2 separate regions of the Homo sapiens genome follow, and region 2 is linked to region 1. The links are contacts of gene promoters, found by promoter capture Hi-C in human tissues and cell types (Jung and others, 2019). All regions are on one chromosome and are shown on one strand. Each heading gives the region's core, a stretch centred on a gene start or on the middle of the fragment in contact. The rest is flanking DNA. Distances are from core to core; before and after follow the strand shown.

What was found. Contacts are between HindIII fragments. The study calls those that stand out against the background at their distance.
Region 2: a fragment that was not itself captured here is called in contact with the fragment with the promoter of CDADC1 in region 1 in 3 of the 25 tissues and cell types used here (hippocampus, lymphoblastoid cells and spleen).

Annotation. Positions count from the first base shown.
Region 1 is chr13:49,245,122-49,250,367 of GRCh38, reverse strand. It overlaps CDADC1 (cytidine and dCMP deaminase domain containing 1), which reads right to left and starts at 2,443. Exons shown (of 10, transcript NM_030911.4): 1 at 2,249-2,443; 2 at 1,403-1,497. The coding sequence starts at 2,330. LOC105370203 (a long non-coding RNA gene) reads left to right here and starts at 2,528. Exons shown (of 2, transcript NR_135318.1): 1 at 2,528-2,733. RefSeq lists enhancers at 2,321-2,550, 2,020-2,582. The HindIII fragment of the contact is 6,098 bases long and covers 1,137-5,246 here.
Region 2 is chr13:48,826,442-48,831,687 of GRCh38, reverse strand. No RefSeq gene overlaps it. Among named protein-coding and RNA genes, the nearest start is that of FNDC3A, 150 kb to the left of the region's middle. The HindIII fragment of the contact is 4,054 bases long and covers 1-3,985 here.

The DNA of each region.
Region 1 (5,246 bases), core at 1,194-3,693:
GTGTTTCTACTCATTAGAAAATAAAGACCATGTTTTTTCTGCTTTGTGTCTCCAGTGCCAAGCACAAAACCTCATCCACAGTAAAATGAAAAGAGTAGGTGGTCTCCTAAGAGTACTGTGGGAATTTAAGGATTTATAGTCTTTCTCTGGAAAATCTAAAGCAACCTTTCAGCAGAATTATGGGCAAGTTGGAAACCTCAGCGAGTACATGCAGAATATAACTACAACTTTGTAAGAGTAAAAATAAAAAACCTCATGCTTAAGATTGGAAGCACCAAAATATTAACAGTAATGTTGTTAGAGTGGTGAGAAGCCATGTGTAATTTTCTGCCCCACCCCCCTCATTTTACCTCTGTTTTAAAAAAAGTCTTAAATGCTCAACTTAACCTAATACTATTTTCCAATGGCCGTGGCCCCCTATAAAAATTAATGCCAACACCCTAAGCTTCCAAAATTATCAAACAGAAATGATGAGAACCTAGCATCATGCCATTCCAAGCATGGAGGAAAATGAGAACCTAGCCCCTTGTTGCCCCAAGGGTAGGAGAAAGAAAAGACGCAGGATGTTTATACTTCCAATTCCAATATATTGGCTTTTATGATTATTCTTACTATACATTTCTGATTTTTTTTTTGAGATGGAGTCTTGCTCTGTCACCCAGGCTGGAGTGCAGTGGTGCAATCTCAGCTCACTGTAACCTCCAACGATTCGTTCAAGCGATTCTCATGCCTCAGCCTCCCGCGTAACTGGGACTACAGGCGGATACCACCACTCCTGGCTAATTTTTGTATGTTTAATAGAGATGGGGTTTCACTATGTTGCCCAGGCTGGTTTTGAACTCCTGACCTCAGGTGATCCACCCACCTCAGCCTCACAAAGTGCTAGGATTACAGGCGTGAGCCACTGCACACAGCCCATTTCTAATCTGTTTTGATCCTGTCTTTCAAGATCCAAAAAGAGACTACTTCCATCCAACATTAATCAATTAGCACTCATATAATGCTAGACTCTAAAGGGTATATGCTAGGTAAAATAAGACATGGTCTCTATCTCCAGGCAATTTATATATTTCTGTGGCAGAGGAGTAAACTACCTAGATAAAACACCAACAGTATATATAATTGGGGGAAATTATGTGGTATAGACAATAATCTTATTAGCCGAACTGACATATGAATACCATTAGTACCCGATAAACATGGTATTCTCAGAAAGTATTTTTAGAATGGAAGATGACTTATTACGGCTGGGAATTATAAAGTGTCATGTTAATCAATAAAGATATTTTTTAAATCTTAAGCCTTGTTAAGTTTGGTTTTAGGTATGACAGAAACTGGAGCAATAAACTCAGATTTTAAACCACTGCTTTTCTAAGGGGAAAAACTATGAAACAAATTATACCTGAGATTTTTGCCGCTGGGCTTCTGCTGGAAAGAGCTCCATCCAGAGGCTGAGCAGAGTGAAAAGGTTGACTTTAGAAAGCCTTGGTATCTGACCTACAAAAGAGACGACAAACACTTTAAACTTTGTTACTAATGGTGAAAAAGGGAGCCAATCTCAATGCCACTTAGGTGCTGCAGCCTAAGCCCAGCTGCTTTCGCAAGAGGCACAGAAAAAGATAGGGGACAAGAGAGTCAGAGGTATCTTAGCAGTAGACGCTTCAGCCTTAGTCGTGGCTACCTCCTTCTCCACTTAAAAAGTTGAGCCTTCTTTCTCCAGCCCTCACCCTGCAGGAAAAAACGGTACAGCTAATACACATAGCTGAGGGGGACAACCCAAAGCAAGCTGTGAAAAGTCTTCGCATCTGACGTCGTCGTGGTGCAAGCTTTTCTTTGGACTGTGATGGGGCGTTGCTAAAAGGAAAGCGATTAGAACACAACCCGAAAAATGCGCTGACCTTCGACGGTAAAGCAGTCGAAATACAGGAAAGCGTCACGTGCGGTTAATTTGGAAATCAAGGCAAAAGCGCCGTTTGGAAATGTTCAGGCTCTTTGACCTCAGAGGCCCCAGCTCTAGGTCCTGTGAGAAGTAGCTAACAGGGGTAAAAAGCGAGACTTCAAAAGCCAGTGCGACCGAGCCGATTGGTCCTGGCGACCGCGGAGGGGACACGCAGAGGGCGGGCAGGAGACATCCAAAAGCAGCAGGGGAGGCAAAGAGGCTCAGACAAGGAATCTGGAGTTCAATGACGGGAGACGCACAGGGCAGAGCGAAAGGTAGGGTGGCGGGAGCAGGGTCCCGGACACTCACCGGTCATGCTGCCAGTCTGGGTGCTGACTGACCGCCCGGCCCTCGCGCTCTCCAGATTTTGCATCTGCCCAGCTTCTTTCATCCCAAACCTAGCGTCCTCTGCTGCCAAGGAAACCTCTCCCAGTCAGACATGATCTCGGCCCTAGCGCCCCCGCCTCTCGCCTCCTCTCAGCAACTGTAAGGCAACGGCCCACTAGGCGCAGCCAGATGACGCCTCAAGCTTGACCGCCACTTCAGGGCTCCTCGTGTGACGTCATAGAGAGGCGGGGCTTTGGCGCCAGAGGGCTGCCCCTCGGCCGGTGACCGAGTTAAGCACCGAGCTGTAAATCGCTTGAGACCTGTATTTGGTTGTTTTGTTGGTTTTGCCAAGTAAGGTCACTTGAGGATTTCTTGGCTCGAGGTCCCAGGTTGCGCAGACTCTGACTGCATCGAGTTGAGAATTTTGGTCAGAATGTTAAAGTGGAAACCTACCCCAGGCTGTCATGGTCAGTGTTTTAGAGAACTTCTTGGGTTGGGGTGTGGAGCTGGGCGGTCCAGGATGTTCTGTCATCAGAGACTGGCGGGTTCTGGGGAACTTGGTGCCATGGAACACAGTAGGGACGTTCTGCTTCTCATCAAGAACATGAAGACATTAAGAGGTGGAATTGTAATGGGGAAAAAGGTGAGAGGAGGCAGTAGGAGTTATTTTGTTTTTAATTTCTAATGTCTAGTTTATTTCCACAAAACATCTGTATCATACCAGTTCTTTGAAATTTGTTCAGACTTGTTTTATGACCTAGATCAGCACTGTCCAGTAGGATTTCCTGTAGTATTCTATATCTGCACTGTCCAATATGGTAGCCACCAGCCACATGTGGCTATTGAGCATCTGAAATGTGGCCAGTACAACCAAGGAACTGCATTTTTAACTTCATTTAGTTTTAATTAATTTACATTTTAAGTAGTGACATGTGGCTATTGGCTACTACTGTATTGGACAACATTACTCTAGACTCTCCTCCTGGAATTCCTATTAGGCATAGGTTAAACCTTCTGAGGTTCTAAATTATTATTTTTAAAATATTGCATCATTTTGTTTCTCTGAGCCACATTCTGGCTAATTTCTTCAGATCTATCTTTCAGCTTGCTATTTATTTCTTTGGCTTGTAGAATTTTTTCTAGTTCGCCTGTTCTGAGGGTAAAGCTCTTCAGGTGATTTGACTATATCCAGAGAACTCCATTCTGCACCTTTCCTGAAGTGTAGACTTTGTTGACAGTGCCTTCATGGCAATTAACACTAAGGTTTAAAGACAGGCCATGGACTAGGAGAAAATATTTGCAAAGCATGTATCCAACAAAGGACTCATATCCAGAATATATAAAGAACCATATAAACTCAGAGTAAGTAAACAGTCCAGTTAGAAAATGGATCAAAGACTTGAATAGTCATTTCACCAAAGAAGATATACAGATGGCAAATAAACATGTAAAACAGTGTTCAGTGTCATTGGCCATTAGGGAAATGTATATTAAAACCACAATGAGATTCTACTACACACCTATTTAAATGGCTAAAATAACAAGTACTGACAGCACTAAATGCTAGTGAGGATGCAGAGCAACCGGATCTCTCAAACATTGCTGGTAGGACTATAAAATGGCATAACCACTCTAGAAAACAGTTTGACAGTTTCTTATAAAGTTGCACATATGCTTATCATATCACCCAGCAATCACACTCCTGGGTATTTATCCTAGACAAACCAAAACTTATGTTCAAACAAAACTCTGTACATGAATGTCATGGTGGCTTTATTTTTAATAGTCAAAAACTGAAAACAGGCCAGGCATGGTGGCTCACACCTGTAATCCCAGCACTTTGGGAGGCCAAGGCGGGCGGATCATGAGGTCAGGAGTTTGAGATCAGCCTGGGCAACATGGCGAAACCCCGTCTCTACTAAAAATACAAAAAATTAGCCAGGCGTGGTGGCATGTACCTGTAGTCCCACCTACTCAGGAGGCTTAGGCAGGAGAATCACTTGAACCCGGGAGGCAGAGGTTGCAGTGAGCCAAGATTGCACCACTGCACTCCAGCCTGGGCGACAGAGTGAGACTCCATCTCAAAAACAAAAAAACAAAAAAACTGTAAACAAGCCAAACAGTCCTTAGTGAATGAATAGAAAGCAAACTGGAGTATATCCATGCCATGGGACACTACTCAGCCATAAAAAGTAATGAGCTATTGATACGTACAACTTGAATGAATCTCAAGGGCATTGTGGTGAGTTTTTAAAAGCCAGTCTTAAAGTGTTGTATACTGTATGATTCCATCTAGATACCATTCTCATAGCCAAAGAAAAATTATAGCATTGAAGAACAAATCCATGATTGCCAAATGTTATGGTTGGGACAAGGGTCTGACTGTTAAGAGGTAACACGACAGAGTTTCTTTGTGTTGACAGTTACTCATATCTATACATGTGATAAAATTCATAGAGCTATACACCAAAAATGCAAAGTGGTACATTCAAAACTAGTAAAACACAAATAAGATCTATACCTGTATTAACAGTATTTTACCAGTATCAGTTTCCTGCTTTTACCAAAGTGCTGTGAATAGGTAAGACATTATTATTGCAGAAGCTGGGTGAAGGGTAACACAGGAACTCTGTATTATTTTTGCAACTTTCTTTAAGTCTTAAACTCTCAAAATAACTATATGTATATATATATACATACACACCTATATATGTTATATGTGTGTTTGTGTGTGTATCTTTAATCCCCAGCAGTCTAGATCTGCCCTGCCCTTCAAACAATCATTAGCTTTATTGCTCATTAACCTCTCTTTGGACTCCTGGTCTCATTCCATTTTCAGTCCTTTAGTATTTCAGAGCAGTTTAAATACTTGGACTATTTCTCTTACTTTCTTGCTAGCTCAGCCATATTTTATCCTGCATTTTTAGGTATTTGTAGCTGAAATATTTTTCAGACTAGGCTAACTTTTCCACAGTATTGG
Region 2 (5,246 bases), core at 709-3,208, 420 kb after region 1:
TGTGGCTGGTTTGATCTTCTATCCAGACCACTCAAACTTTCTCCATATCAGCAATAAGGCTGATTTTCTTTCTTATTATTTGTGTGGTCACTGGAGTGGCACTTTTAATTTCCTTCAAAAATTTTTCCTTTGCATTTGTAACTTGGCTGACTGGCGCAAGAGGCCTAGCTTTCGGCCTTGTGTCAGCTTTCAACATGCCTTCCTCACTAAGCTTAGTCATTTCTAGCTCTTGACTTAAAGTGAAAGGCATGCAACTCTTCCTTTCACTTGAACACTTAGAGGTCATTTTAGGATTATTAACTGGCCTAATTTCAATATTGTGGTGTCTCTTAAGATAGGGAGGCCCGGCGAGCTCGGTGGCTCATGCCTGTAATACTAGCACTTTGGGAGGCCGAGGTGGGCATATCACTTGAGGTTAGGAGTTCGAAACCAGCCTGACCAATATGGTGAAACCCCATCTCTACTAAAAATACAAAAAAAAATTAGCCTGCCGTGGTGGTGGGCACCTGTAATCCCAGCTACTCAGGAGGCTGAGGCAGGAGAATTGCTTGAACCCGGGAGACGGAGGTTGCAGTATGCTGAGATCACACCACTGCACTCCAGCCTGGATGACAGAGCGAGACTCCATCTAAAATAAATAAATAAATAAAAGGGTAAGGAGGCCCACGGAGGAGAGGGAGAGAGACAGGGGAGTGGCCAGTGAGCGGAGCAGTCGGTACACATGCAACATCTATTGATTAAACTCACTGTCATTTGCGGGCATGGTTTGTGGGCCCCCAAAACAATTACAATAGTAACACCTAAGATCACTGATCACAGATCACCACAACAGACACAATAATAATGAAAAACTTTGAAAGATTGTGAGAATGACCAAAATGTGCCACAGAGACACAAAATGAGCACATGCTGTTAGAAAAATGGCACCAATAGACTTGTTCAATGCAGGTTGCCACAAAATTTCAATTTGCAGAAAGCAAAATATCTGTGAAGCACAACATCTGTGAAGCACAACAAAAATGAAAAGCAATAAAATGAGTTAAGCCTTTATAAGACACAACTATAGGGAGTTTGGGTTGAATTTGTGATTATTCATAGAAAATTAAGCAAAATGAAAATGTGATAATTATTAACTCCAGGGAAAAGAAAACAGAAAGGGAAATTAATCATAATATTCTGCATAGCTCAACTGTGAATAATATTTATGTCATCAAATAAATACCAGTAACTGAACTAAATAAAATTATGATACAGCTACACAGGGAGAAGGGGGGGATAAAAACTTTATGTTTTGTTGTTGAGGTCATTCCTAAAGTTGAAACAATATAATGTTTAGAGATATTGAGGTAAATAACCAAAAGAATCAGCTAAAACCTGCTTTAAAGTAGCTGCCTTTGGGACATAAAAGCAGATTGGGAACCACTATTTTTCATAACAAGTCTGGTAGAGCTATTTGACTGCAACAATAGCACGTTGCATTATAATAAAAACAGAAACCAAATAAATAAGTGTGTGAAGATACTTGAATTTTATGTGATCTTAGGCAAGTAACTTCATCTCTCTGGACGTCGTTTGTAAAATAAAGAAAAGAATAGTAACTTTTCATTTTGGATGATCTCTGACCCAATAAGTTTAAGTGTTAAGCTACTTTAAGCTACTCAGAAAACAGAGTTCCAATTTCATAATTGGAAGGGATAATATTGTCATGTAGTTGGATCCCTCAGTTTCCAGGAGGAAACACAGAGAATCTAAGTGATTTATTCACAGGTACTGGCTCATTTATGGCTGAGAACGTATTGAGACATGGGTCTCCAGCTCTTGATCCAAATATCTTTTAAAAATGTTACCACAATGACAATAAGAGAGGGCATTTTATCTCTCTTGTGAAAAAGAGAACTAAAACCACATAGAACCACATAAACCCAACTTTTGAAATATTACTACTTCCTGTGCTAAAGCCAGATAAGTGGTTTAATTGAACCTCTCTTCTTCTACCCTTTTCACCTCTCTCTTGATAGAGTTGTGTGCCTGCCTCCTATTGCAGCAAAGGTTTAAGCCAAGAAAGACACATTTTTAATATACAGATGGATACAGAATATCACCAGTATTCATTTCTATTGTATGTCACCAAACCTTCCCTGAGGCCATTAGTAATTTTCCAGACTTATCTCTGCACTCTGAGTTTGCGACTGAATCAATGCTGGGGTTATAACAGAGACACAAAATGAGTACATAAAGCACGAGATGGTTGGAAAACAGTGTTACAGGTGACATTCTGCCCAGAGCACATTCTGTATGCTGTGAACCTCTTCCCTTCCCCCAGTCAATTTGCTATGCTCGCCTGCATGCAAATACAAGAGGGAAATCTAAGAGACCAGTTACTAAGGAGACAAAACAGGTGCTTATGTGAGTCATCCTCTCTGTGGAGGGAATCGGGCAAATTTTCTATGATGGAAGCTTTGGTGATGATTAATTCACTTTTGACATCCACATTTCAATGCAAAAGGGCTTAAGAATTAATTTCAAATTAAACCTTTTCTCCCCCCCTACAACACTCAGAACCAGGATGGAAGAGGTTTAGGCAGCAGACTGTCAGGTAACAGCAGAAAATGATTCACTGCCTTATTATGTGGGCTGGGGTTACAGGAGAATCCCTGCATTCTTCTTAGGGAAGGAATGAGAGAAGCAGAAGCTTCTTCCAAATGAATAGGCAACTCTGCCTCTGGACCAAGAAAAGCTTGGGTGACAAATCAGTCATTTGCTCCAGTAGAAAGAGCTAGAAAAGGGACTGAATGCTGAAGTGATCCTCTCTTGTTGTGCTAAATTCTGCAGAACAGCCAGTCCCATCCAGGCAGTCAGCCCTGATAACATAAAGGACTTGGGGAGCATGAAGGGGAATGATAAAACAAGAGGGAATGTTTAATTTTTTCTTGACCTTCTTTCTGGGAGGCAACAACATGGTAGAAATATCATGGATTTAGCAATCAGACTGATGGTGATTATACCAGCAATGCCACTTAATAGCTCTGAAGTCTTAGACAATGACCGTGGACCCTTCAGAGCATCAGCAATATGTGAATAGTGCCTCCTCACAAGATTGTTGTGAGGACTTGTATACAGTAGGCACCTAAGAAATTTTGGGATTTCCTTTTCTTACCCTATGACCCATAAACACAAGTTTAGATAGAATCACAGAATCTCTGTGCTGAAAGACAGCATTAGTGATCTAACTTGGCCATTCAGAATGCTTGAAGAAATGCTAAAACCCCTAAAGGAAGTACAAAGGTCTTCCAGTTTCTGCTAAAAATTCTCTAGCAAGGGGAATTTCCACTCTAGAAGGAGGTCCTTTTATATTATGATATTAATATATTAGAAAGCCCTTTTCCTATTTGTCTTAATTCAATCCCCTAGAGCCACATAGAACTAGTCTAATCACTTCCATGGCAAACACAATACTTATTTTCTTCTGATGTGATTTCTTCCTTACATGATATACAACTTTCTTACATCATTCTGATTGCTGTTTCTCCAAGAGGTTATGCCAAAGACTGTGCTCTAGCCACCCAAATCATTCATTCTTCTTTTTTTTTTTTTTGTTCTTATGGTTGGGTAGACTCATCTTTAGTAAAGATAGCTGAAATACCTTTCCCAGCCTCCCATGCAGTTAGATATGAGTATATTGTGGGTTACAGTGGAATGTGAGCGGAAATTATGATTGTCAATTCCTGGCCAGCATCTAAAGCAGTAGATAAGTATTCTACATGCCCTTCCTTCATTCTGTCAGTAGTAACCTGGTCACAGTGGTGCCCCTGTTTCACCCCTATGGTAGGTGACAACGCTCTGTTGAATGATGAGGCAATGGTAATGGAAAGAACCTGGTTCCCTGAAGGACTTCATCAAAGAGAGCTGCCTGTCAGCCTAGGACATCACCTGGGACTGTTATACAAAAGAGAAAGCAACTTCTTTGTTCCTTAAGCCATTGTATCAATGTCTCTCATTGTATCAGCAGCCTAGACTTACCCTAAGTAACGTGGTTTGGCTGTGTCCCCTCCCAAATCTCATATTGAATTCTAATACCCAGTGTTGGGGTAGGGACCTGGCAGGCGCTGATTGAATCATGGGGCAGATTTCCCACTTGCTATTCTTGTGATAGTGAATGAGTTCTCATGAAATCTGGTTGTTTAAAAGTGTGTAGCACTTCCCTCTTTGCCCTCTCTCTCCTGCTCCACCATGATAAGATGTACTTGCTTCCCCTTCTCCTTCCACCATGACTGTAAGTTTTCTGAGGCCTCCCAGCCACGCTTCCTGTATAGCCTGTGGAACTGTGAGTCAGTTAAACCTCTTTTTTTCATAAATTATCCAGTCTCAGGTAGTTCTTTATAGCAGTGTGAGAATGGACTCATTTAGAAAATTGGTACCAGAAGTGGGGTATTGCTATAAAGATACTTGAAAATGTGGAAACGACTTTGGAACTGGATAATAGGCAGAGACTGGAACAGTTTGGAGAGCTCAGAAGAAGACAGGAAGATACAGCAAAGTCTGAAACTTCCTAGACACCTGTTGAATGGTTGTGACCAAAATGCTGATTGTGATATGGATAGTGAAGTCCAGGCTGAGGTTGTCTCAGATGGAGATGAGGAACTTGTTGGGAACTGGAATAAAGGTCACTCTTGCTATACTTTAGAAAAGAGATTAGCAGCTCTGCTCTAGGGATCTATGGAACTTTGAACTTGAGAGAGATGATTTAGGATATCTGGCAGAATAAATTTCTAAGCAACAAAGCATTCAAGCAGTGGCCTGGCTGCTTCTAAAAGCCTATTCTCATTTGCATAAACAAAAAATGACCTGAAATTAGAACTTATATTTAAAAGGGAAGCAGAGCATAAAAGTTTAGAAAATTTGCAGCCCAACCATGTGGTGGAAAGGAACAATCCGTTTTCTTGGGAGGAATTCAAGGCTACAGAAACTTGCATAAGAAGAGCCAAATGTTAATAGCCAACACAATGGGGAAAATGCCTCCAAGGCATTTCAGAGACTCTAGTGGCAGCCCCTACCATCACAGGCCTGGAGGCCTAGTAGAGAAAAATGGTTTTATGGACCAGGCACAGGGCCCTGCTACTCTGTGCTGCCTTGGAACATGGCATCCTGCATCCCAGCCACCTCAGCTCCAGCTGTGGTTAAAAGGGACCAAGGTAGAGCTCAGGCCATTACTTCAGATAGTGCAAGCCCCAAGCTTCCAACCCTTG